2 separate regions of the Homo sapiens genome follow, and region 2 is linked to region 1. Evidence: promoter capture Hi-C in 16 types of primary human blood cells and fetal thymus (Javierre and others, 2016). All regions are on one chromosome and are shown on one strand. Each heading gives the region's core, a stretch centred on a gene start or on the middle of the fragment in contact. The rest is flanking DNA. Distances are from core to core; before and after follow the strand shown.

What was found. Contacts are between HindIII fragments. The CHiCAGO score rates a contact against its expected background, and 5 or more counts as called.
Region 2: a contact is called between a fragment that was not itself captured here and the fragment with the promoter of IMMT in region 1, in 5 of 17 cell types (fetal thymus, total B cells, total CD8 T cells and 2 more). The highest score is 8.9, in fetal thymus.

The regions. Positions count from the first base shown.
Region 1 is chr2:86,193,289-86,198,659 of GRCh38, forward strand. It overlaps IMMT (inner membrane mitochondrial protein), which reads right to left and starts at 2,174. Exons shown (of 15, transcript NM_006839.3): 1 at 2,050-2,174. The coding sequence starts at 2,094. RefSeq lists enhancers at 1,675-1,724, 1,845-2,024, 2,045-2,164. The HindIII fragment of the contact is 5,542 bases long and covers 1,172-5,371 here.
Region 2 is chr2:85,634,509-85,639,879 of GRCh38, forward strand. It overlaps USP39 (ubiquitin specific peptidase 39), which reads left to right. Exons shown (of 13, transcript NM_006590.4): 7 at 1,545-1,622; 8 at 2,861-2,928; 9 at 4,695-4,883. Among named protein-coding and RNA genes, the nearest start is that of USP39, 21 kb to the left of the region's middle. The HindIII fragment of the contact is 283 bases long and covers 2,909-3,191 here.

The DNA of each region.
Region 1 (5,371 bases), core at 924-3,423:
CCCAGCTACTCAGGAGGCTGAGGTAAGAGGATTGCTTGCGCTCAGGAGGTCAAGGCTGCAGTGAGCCATGACTGTGCCACTGCACTCCAGCCTGGGTGACAAAGTGAGACTCCGTATCCAAAAAAAAAAAAAGAAAGATGGGGTTTAATAAAGTGGAAAGGATCTTGACAAGTGAGATATTCTGGATACGTTGATACAATCAAATACGACGAGGCTAGAGAGTCACCTGCTTGGGGATTAAAGTTCTGAGAGTTGATGTAATCTCAAATTAGAGAGTCTATAAAGAGACAGGAAGAGATGAGAAGGTGTATATTTCGAGGTACAAAGCAGAAGCAGACTCAGTAAAGGAAAACAAGAGAGATGGGACCCAAAATATTACTTGAGAGAAGCCAAAAGTACAAAGAGCCTCATAAAGCAGCAATGTCAAATGCTACAGAATTAAGGAGATGGTGAGAATAAACCAAAGAATTTTACAAGACAGCAATTTCAAGAAGCTTAGACATCTTGATTCAGAGCTATAAAAGGGTTCATTTTTTATTACCAAGTTTTAATTAGTTTTCTTAATTCCCAAATGGGATCCCAAAAAGTTGACTCTGAATTAACTGAAAAGGAGGTCATCCAGGTGGGCCTGGTCTAATCACATAAGCCTTTTAAATCTGGGTCTAGAGAGGAAAGACCAAAGTAAAAGAAATTTGGAAGTCAGAGAGGCAAGCTCCTGGTAGCCTGCACGAAAGCAAACATCAATGTTATGAATGGCCTCTAGAGGCCTTGAGGCAAGGAACTGTAGGCAGGCTGTAGAAGCTGGGAGCAGTGGCTGGCAAGAGGCAGCAAGAAAAGAAGTACTTCAGTCCTGTAACTGCAAGGGACTGAATTCTGCCAACAAACTGCATGAGCCTGGAAGAGGACCCTGATCTCCAAATGAGAACCACAGCATGGCTAATACTTTGCAGCCTTATGTGACCTGGAGCGGAGAACACAGATCATCCGTGCCCAGACTTCTATCCTACAGAACCCGTAAGGTCATTCATGGGTGTTGTTTTAAGCTGCTAAATTTGTGGTATTTGTTACGCAGCAATAGAAAACTAACACAGGTTCGTTCCACTTTCCTATGGAAGGGGCTGCTTCTGTTACCTAGCAGCAAATAGGAAGAGAAGCGAACTTGAAAAAACAAAGCTTGACTTTTATGATCTCTAACTCACTATTCCTAGGGATTCTGTTCAATTACTGCTTGAGTCACAGTACTTGGTTTGCTATCTACATTTTGCCAAAATATCAACTTCCTGAAAATCATGAGCAGTGGAAACAGGCTTTTTAATTTTCAATTTTAGAAAGTAACTTTGGCAATTACGCAAAACTAGAAGTAACTGGGTATTTAGGCTCCTTGAATGTCAAAGTAGTCCCAGCGCCTGGAGACACAGATCCCTGCCCTAATCTCAGAAATGAGCCACAAGGTCATGACTCCTGTCTTTCCTTGAAGACCAGGAGTTTCAGCTCCACAAATGAAAATCTTTCGCTTTTGTTTGGATTAAGAATAACTCAGAAGTGTTCTCAGCTGCGAAAAGAAAGGCACTCCCTCCCAGATAATTACAACCTTGACCCCTAAAATGTGGACTCTCGCTAGAAGTCCAGGCACCTCCTTATTAAGGATGCAACAAGCCGCCGCTCCGCTCGTCCTGACGGGAACTGTAGTTCTCGCCCGTCGACCTTCAGCACTGAAAACCTATCGCGCGCCCAACCGGCGACCCAGACGCCAGCAGCCAGGATTGGTCCTGGACGGGGGCAGCGCGGCCCTGATTGGACTACATGCCCACGAAGCCGCGCCTCCCGCTACTCTCCACACCCCACCCCGCTGCTGCAATAACCTCAAGTCATCCCAGTCCGGCGAACTCCCTGGTGGCTGCCTAGCTGCCCGCCCGGGCCTCTCCCGACGAGGGTGGCCCTGAGGCTCGCCTTTGTCCTGGAGGCTAGGCAGCGACCAAGGCTCCCCCGTTTTTCGCTGACGGTTCTAGTTCAGCCTCCTCACGCGCCTCCGGGAGCCCCAGTGCTCACCTGGGCGGCGGCGGTCACACCCGATAACTGACAGGCCCGCAGCATCTCGGTCAAGCGGACGGCGCTGCTGGTGGACTCGAGCTGCCGCGGCGGCGCGAGTTAAGTGGAGGCGTGCTTGCGTGTGTGCGTGCCCGCGTCCGCGCCCGGCGCACCGGAAGCACAGCGGACGCCACTGCGCACGCGCGGCCCCTTCTACCGTCCCCGACTCCGCGGCTCTTAGAGGGTGGGCTGTGTCCCGGCTGCGGAAACGCCAACTCCAGGCGATTGGCGCGAAGGAGGCGAAAAGGGCGGATTCCCTTTCCGGGTCGCGCCCGGGCTGCAGGTCCTTATCCGGAAGGGGTTACTAGGTGAACACTGCCGGAGGGAGAGCGCTCTGAAATCCATTCTTCAGCCGCACGTGGAAAATGGACAGCTGTGACTCTTAAAGAGAATTAAAGCAACAAAGCATCTCAGCCTGCTCTATGAGCTGGATATTTCGTAGGAAGGAGCCGATTTGGCGAAAGTTACGTAAACAATGGAATTGTCTCAGTTTGCGCCTTTGTTTCGTTTGACAGCCCTCCAGGGAGTCATAGTGATTGCTGGAGACGGTGAACTAACACTGTGGGGACCCTTGTGCTAAACGTGTCAAGTGGCACAACAAGGATAGGAACACGGGTCCTTTGGACTCCACAGCTTCTGCTCCTTCCAGATTAAGCCACACTGCTTTCTCCAAGTTGTTACTGTAGTAACATCATTTTGGCTGCAGTTTGTGGATGGGTTGGAAGATGGGAAGTCAATGCAGAAGCACCGTTGAAAGTATTCCACTGGGCAGGGCGCGGTGGCTCACGCTTGTAATCCCAGTACTTCGGGAGGCCGAAGCGGGAGGATCGCTTGAGCCCAGAGGTTCGATACCAGGCTGGGCAACACAGTGAGACCTCGTCTCTATATAGAAAAATAAACAAACAAAAAATTTAAAAAGAAAAGTAGGGCCAGGAGCTATGACTCACGCCTGTAATCCCAGCACTTTGGGAGGCCAAGGCGGGTGGATCGCCTGAGGTCAGGAATTCGAGACCAGCCTGGCCAAAATAGTGAAACCCCGTCTTTACTAAAAATACAAAAAATTAGCTGGGCATGGTGGCGGGTGCCTGTAATCCCAGCTACTCGGGAGGCTGAGGCAGGAGAATTGCTTGAGCCCGGGAGGCGGAGGTTGCAGTGAGCCGAGATCACGCCATTGCACTCCAGCCTGGGCAACAAGAGCGAAACTCTGTCTCAAAAAACAAAAGTATTCCATTGATTCTGTAATCAAAATAAAACACGTTAAATATTAAGCATGGTATTAATACTCCATGTATACTCCAGAATTAATATGTTCGTATTAATACTATTAGCATCTTATTGCAATATCGTGGAAACTAACTTTTCTATCTTCTATTGGATTTGCAAAGTATTCCAAGTCTTAACTGGGTAATTTATTACAATATGTATTCTCTCTAGAGGTAGACTGCGCTATGACTTGTAGCATGGAGAGATGGACTTGAAAATTATCTGAAAGCAATAGTTATGTTTGTATATGTTCTATGTTCTATGGTTTTTAGGGGACTACAGTAATTACATATGTTTCATATCTCTTTCACTTAGCTTCCAGAGCAGTCTCCCGTTTTCTTTAGTAATTTTAGCAATTGAATTGCTGCCTCCCTGCCCACTGCTGTCATGCCCAGTGGTGCCGGTGTGATGACTTTTCTAACACCCTTGTCTTTGAACTTCTTAATGCCAGTGAACGCTTTCATCCTGCTTCAGTCATGTGGTGCCCGTGTGATGACTTTTCTAACACCCTTGGCTTTGAATTTGTCAATGCCAGTGAATGTTTTCATCCTGCTTCAGTCATGTACGTCACAGCCACAACTTGCGCCTGAACATCATTAGCAACCTCTCTAGCTTCAAGATCTCAAACCTCAAAATTAGCCTCCCAACCCCTCATAACCTACGTGGAGAGTCCTCACTCTCCACTTGGAAGTTGTCAATATTTTTGCTTTAAAATGTTATCAGGCAGGCCAGGCGCTGTGGCTCACACCTGTAATCCCAGCACTTTGGGAGGCTGACGCGGGCGGATCACCTGAGGTCAGGAATTCGAGACCAGCCTGGCCAACATGGTGAAACCCCGTCTCTACTAAAAATACAAAAATTAGCTAGGCTTGGTGGTGCGCGCCTGTAATCCCAGCTATGTGGGAAGCTGAAGAAGGAGAATCACTTGAACCTGGGAAGCAGAGGTTGCAGTGAGCCAAGATCACACCACTGCACTCCAGCCTGGGGGACAAAGCGAAACTCCGTCTCAAAAAAAAAAAATTTGTTACCAGGGGCTGGGTGTGGTGGCTCATATCCCGGCATTTTGGCAGACTGAGGTGGGAGGATCACTTGAGCCCAGGAGTTTGAGACCTGCCTGAGCAAAAGAGTGAGACCTCTCCCAGCACTTTGGGAGGCCGAGGCGGGCGGATCATGAGGTCGGGAGATCGAGACCATCCTGGCTAACACGGTGAAACCCCGTCTCTACTAAAAAAAATAATAATAATACAAAAAATTAGCTGGGTGTGGTGGCAGGCACCTGTAGTCCCAGCTACTTGGGAGGCTGAGGCGGAGAATGGTGTGAACCCGGGAGGCGGAGCTTGCAGAGAGCCAAGATCGCACCACTGCACTCCAGCCTGGGCAACAGAGCGAGAGTCTGTCTCCAAAAAAAAAAAAAAAAAAAAAAAAAAAAAAAAAAGTGAAACCTCATCTCTATAAACAATTTTTTTAAATTAGCAGGGGATGATTGTGCATGCCTGTGGTGCCAGCTACTTGGAAGGCTGTGGTGGGAGGATCCCTTGAGCTCAGGAATTCCAGGCTGCAGTGATTGCACCACTGCACTCAGACCCTGTCTCTAAAAAACAAAATTTAAATCAAGTCACTCACTTGTTCAAAAATGTGCAGTGAGGCCAGGCTCAGTGGCTCACACCTGTAATCCCAGCACTTTGGGAGGCCAAGGTGGGAGACCTGTTTGATTCCATACCAAATAATTGAGACCACCCTGGGCAACATAGTGAGACCTAGGTCTCTACAAAAAATTTAAAAATTAGCCAGGTGTGTGCCTGTAGTCTCAGCTACTCAGGAGGCTTAGGTGGGAGGATTGCTTGAGCCTAGGAGGTCGAGGCTGCAGTGAGCTGTGATCGCACCACTGCACTCAAGCCTTCGCAACAGACCAAGACCTAGTCTCAAAAAAAAAAAAAAGTGCGCAATGACTCCCGTTGCCAATTCAAAGAGCTTTTATGAATGTTTCAATATACTTGTCTAGCGTATGTGCCTGTTTTTG
Region 2 (5,371 bases), core at 1,800-4,299, 560 kb before region 1:
GCTTGCAGTGAGCTGAAGTTGCATCACTGCACTCCAGCCTGGGTGACAGAGTGAGACGCTGTGTCGCGAAGAAAAAATCTGGGTGCCTCACCCTTCTAAACAGGTGACAGCCTGTTTGTGTGCTTTGTAGGACCATCTAATTCCCAAGAACTAGGTGGCTAGGTTATCTTGTGTTTATAGAGACATTTCTGTTTCTGGACCAACTCCCTGAGCTCCCAGGGTTTTATATTAAGGCTGCAAGAAAGGAAGAAATTTGTGTTGAGAATGATTTTTTTGTGGACCATGAATGGATGGATGAGTGTCAGCATTCACTGTGTTCCACAGGTGACTTATGGCCTGAAGGTGGATAGTGGGGCCTGTCAGCTTTTGGCAGCTTGGAAAGTTAGGGCATAATTGGGTTGTAGAGTTGCAGAAAAACCAGGGTACCCTGAGAATCAACGTGTCTAGTTTCTTCTGTCATAGCCACTATTGGCTAGGATAGTTATGATGTCACATAAACATAATTTCCTCCATCTCTGAGACCTAGTAGGTTATTAGTTGCCGAGTGTTTAGATGTGTGAAGTGTTTCTTGCTGTGGTAGTTTGTTACATAAGAGCATTCTGTGTACAGGGAATAAAAAGAAAATCATTCTATGGAGTTGTTAGAGGCCTCTGGGTTTAGGGAAATGAAGTTGAGGAAGATATACTATAGTCTTTGAGATTTTAATTGCGTGAGCAAAGAGGAACTAAATAGAAGCAAATCTTCGTTGAAGAGAAAGTAGTCATTATCTGGCTGGGCGCAGTGGCTCATGCCTGTAATCCCAGTACTTTGGGAGGCTGAGGCGGGAGGATCACTTGAGGTCAAGAGTTCGAGACCGGCCTGGCCAACATGGTGAAGCCCCGTCTCTACTAAAAATACAAAAATTAGCTGGGCATGGTAGCAGGCACCTGTAATCCCAGCTACTCAGGAGACTGAGGTGGGAGAATCGCTTGAACCCAGGAGGCGGAGGTTGCAGTGAGCTGAGATCATGCCACTGCACTCCAGCCTGGGCGACAGAGTGAGACTCTGTCTCAAAAAAAAAAGTAGCCACTATCCCTGAAATGTCTGAGTGGCAGGTTCCGTAGACAGCATTTTCATGGAATATTGTCAATCTGCTTTCAGAACCCCTTGTTCTGTATGCCTTTTCAGTCTGGGTGCTAGTCACTTTCCTAAAAGACAGGAATCTTCATGAGCTGCAGAAGGGAAGAAGGAAGTTTGAGCTCACTCTGGAGAAAAGTGGATGTTAAAAGGTCATATTCATTTGTTTTGGTCATCACTGAGTGATGCGATACAGTCCTGGTATGAATCAGAGAGCCTATGGAGAGAGTCAAGATCGGAGGAGTGAGAGCTTGACCTTGAGGAGTGCCAGCATTTAATGATAAGATAGAGGAGGATGCACGGCAGTTGGGATGGGATGGCATGGCCAGAGAGGAAGGGGGAGAACCAGGAATGCCAACCAGTGCATGGTTTAAGTTAACTCTAATGCCACTTAGCTTCAACGTTTTCCACCCTTCCTTTTTTTCCAGGAGATGGCGTTGACTTTCTGTCTTGGTTTCTGAATGCTCTGCACTCAGCTCTGGGGGGCACAAAGAAGAAAAAGAAGAGTAAGTCATTTACTTATAAAAAGGAGTTATTTTGTTCCCTTTTAAAAAACTTTGCGGTCGGTCGCAATGGCTCATGCCTATAATCCCAGCTCTTTGAGAGGCCGAGGTGGGTGGATTACCTGAGGTCAGGAGTTTGAGACCGGCCTGGCCAACATGGCGAAACCCCATCTCTACCAAAAATACAAAAGTTATTCAGGTGTGGTGGGATGTGCCTGTAGTCCCAGCGACTTGGGAGGCTGAGGCAACTTCCCATTCTTTTGTTAACTGTTTATCTGGGGTAGGCTAGTATCTATGTTATAGATAAACTACATGTTCTTTCTGAATAGGCCCCTCTCCATAGTTTTTGCTAGAATATGGTTATAGTCCCAATGATATTTTATTATATATATATTTTGAGACAGAGTCTTGCTCTGTCACCTAGGCTATGCAGTGGCACGGTCTCAGCTCACTGTAGCCTCCATCTCCCAGGTTCAAGCAGTTCTTCTCCCTCAGTCTCCCAAGGGTAGCTGGGATTACAGGCACCCACTACCACGCCCAGCTGATTTTTGTATTTTTAGTAGAGATGGGATTTCTCCATGTTGGCCAGGCTGGTCTCAAACTCCTGACCTCAGGTGATCTGCCCAAAGTGCTAGGATTATAGATGTGATGGTGTCTTGATGTGGGATTGTGGCCTGTTGCTTTTCCCACTGGATGGCCCTGCCCTCTCTACCAGGTGTCTTCAGCCTGTGTTAACCCTCTGAGCTCTCTAACTTGCGTCTTGGCAGGGTTCTAGAACTTGGTTGTGCTTTCTCTCTTGTTGCTTTGATCCTGTTCTGGCCCATCTCTTAGTCTGTCATTGTCCTCTTGTCTTCATTACAGTTTGGACATTGTCTCCCTTTGAAAGTAGCTTATGGTTATGGGAAGTTCCTTGGCTGTACCTTGTTTTGCTTGTGAATTTTTTTGTAATTCATGTATCACCATTCCTTCATTTTGAACACATTTACCTTTTCTTTTATGGACCAGGCCCTGTGATGGAGGATAAAAAGTTGTCTTAAGAGAAATAAAGTAATTATTTACACAAATAATTATAAAGGTACCCTGGTGGTATATAGTACAAAAGGAAACTTCTGTGTTTAGTGAGAGCTCTGTGTCTTTTGCTGGAAGATGCTGGTTTATTTCAGAAATTTAGAAGCTGGAAATATACTTCAGACATGTTTTCCATCCTCACGGAATTTGTCTCTTGCTTCCTGTTTGTGCAGCTATTGTGACTGATGTTTTCCAGGGGTCCATGAGGATCTTCACTAAAAAGCTTCCCCATCCTGATCTGGTGAGTTAATTGAGCCTGGGTCTTGGACTGATTCATATTGCTTGAGGGGACGTAGGGGAGATGAAGAGATGCTCAGAGAACTGACAAGCCTGCTTGCCCTGTGAAGAGGTTCAACAAAGCACCTGCCTAGTGGCAGCTCTGCCTGGTCCCTGTCATACTAGTGCACTTTTTCAGTTTGGGAGTTAGTGGTTGGATGTACTGTGCTGGTTTAAGTGTTCTGGCCACTAGGTGGTGCTGCTGTGTTTTTTCAGAAAGCTCAGCTAAGCTTTCTTTTTGTTTTTCTTAGTCTCCCTCTGTCGCCAAGGCTGGAGTTGCAGTGGCGCCATCTCAGCTCACTGCAACCTCTACCTCCTGGGTTCAAGCGATTCTCCTGCCTTAGCCTCCTGAGTGGCTGTGATTACAGGCGCTTGCCACCACGCCCAGCTAATTTTGTATTTTTAGTTGTGACGGGGCTTCACCATGTTGGTCCAGGCTGGTCTCGAACTCCTGACCTCAGGTGATCTACCTGCCTCGGCCTCCCAAAGTGCTGGGATTACAGGCGTGAGTCACCGTGCCTGGCCCTCAGCTAAGCTTCCTAGATGGTCTTAGAGCTTTTCTTTTTTGAGATGGAGTTTTGCTCTTGTTGACCAGTCTGGAGTGCAATGGCATGATCTCAGCTCACTGCAACCTCCACCTCCCAGGTTCAAACCATTCTCCTGCCTCAGCCTCCGAAGTAGCTGGGATTACAGGCATGCGCCACTATGCCTGGCTAATTTTTCTATTTTTAGTAGAGAAGAGGTTTTACCATGTTGGTCAGGATGGTCTCAAACTCCTGACCTTAGGTGATCCACCTCCCTTGGCCTCCCAAAGTGCTGGGATTACAGACATGAGCCACCGTGCTCGGCCCACTTTCTTTTTTTAATGGATTTTTTTTCCTTTTTGAGACAAGATCTCTGTCACTCAGGCTGAGTGTGGTGGCGTGATTATGGTTCACTGCAACCTCAACCTCCCTTGCTGAAGTGATCCTCCCACCTCAACCTCCCCAGAAACTGGGACCATAGATACACACCACCACACCGGGCTAATTTTTATTTTTATTTTTGTTTAATTTAATTAATTAATTAATTTATTTATTTTATTGAGACGGAGTTTCACTCTTGTTGCCCAGGCTGGAGTGCAATGGCACTATCTCGGCTCACCGCAACCTCCGCCTCCCGAGTTCAGGTGATTCTCCTGCCTCAGCCTCCCGAGTAGCTAGGATTACAGGCGCCACCACCACGCCCGGCTTATTTTGTATTTTTAGTAGAGACGGGGTTTCTCCGTGTTGGTCACGTTGGTCTTGGACTCCTGACCTCAGGTGATCTACCTGCCTCGGCCTCCCAAAGTGCTGGGATTACAGGTGTGAGCCATCATGCCCGGCCAATTTTTTTTTTTTTTTGTAGAGATGGAGTCTCACTGTGTTGCCCAGGCTGGTCTGGAAGTCCTGGACTCAAGCAGTCCTCTCACCTTTGTTCCCAAAGTGTTGAGATTACAGCCGTGAGCCATCACACTTGGCCTCAGGGCTTTTTAGATAGTCTGGTATATAAGCAAAATATCTTTAAAGAAGGAAACCTGTTGGTTCTTAAGTTAATCTAACCAGGTGGTGCATGCCAAACTGCCCAATCTCTCGGGCACTTCTCTTTGTTCTTTCAGATGAAGGAAATGTCGGCGTGGTAAAACATCGGTTCTGTGTTGGTTCCTATACCCGTCACACTCCTTTCCTCTCTTTTCTTCTCATTCATTTCTAGCCAGCAGAAGAAAAAGAGCAGTTGCTCCATAATGACGAGTACCAGGAGACAATGGTGGAGTCCACTTTTATGTACCTGACGCTGGACCTTCCTACTGCCCCCCTCTACAAGGACGAGAAGGAGCAGCTCATCATTCCCCAAGTGCCACTCTTCAACATCCTGGCTAAGTTCAATGGCATCACTGAGAAGGTAGCCCATTAACACACCTGCCCTGCCTATACTTACCCTCGCTCTCTCGACTTTTTCATTTTCTTTTTTTTTTTTTTTTCAAGACAGAGTTTTGCTCTTGTCGCCCAGGCTGGAGTGCAGTGGCGTGATTTCGGCTGACTGCAATCTCTACCTCCCAGTTTCAAGCGATTCTCCTGCCTCAGCCTTCCTAGTAGCTGGGATTACAGACATCCGCCACCATGACTGGCTAATTTTTTATATTTTTAGTAGAGACAGCATGTTGGCCAGGTTGGTCTCGAACTCTTGACCTCAAGTGATCAGCCTGCCTCGCCTCCCAAAGTGCTGGGATTACAGGCGTGGGCCACCACACCTGGCCCATTTTCATTTTATATGTAAGAATCACCACATGTATGTGACGTATTTATTATAAATTATATTGACTTTATTGAGCCTCCCAGACTCGTTGGTATTTCTCACTGGTCACCCCCAACTCTTAACTTATAGTGCCC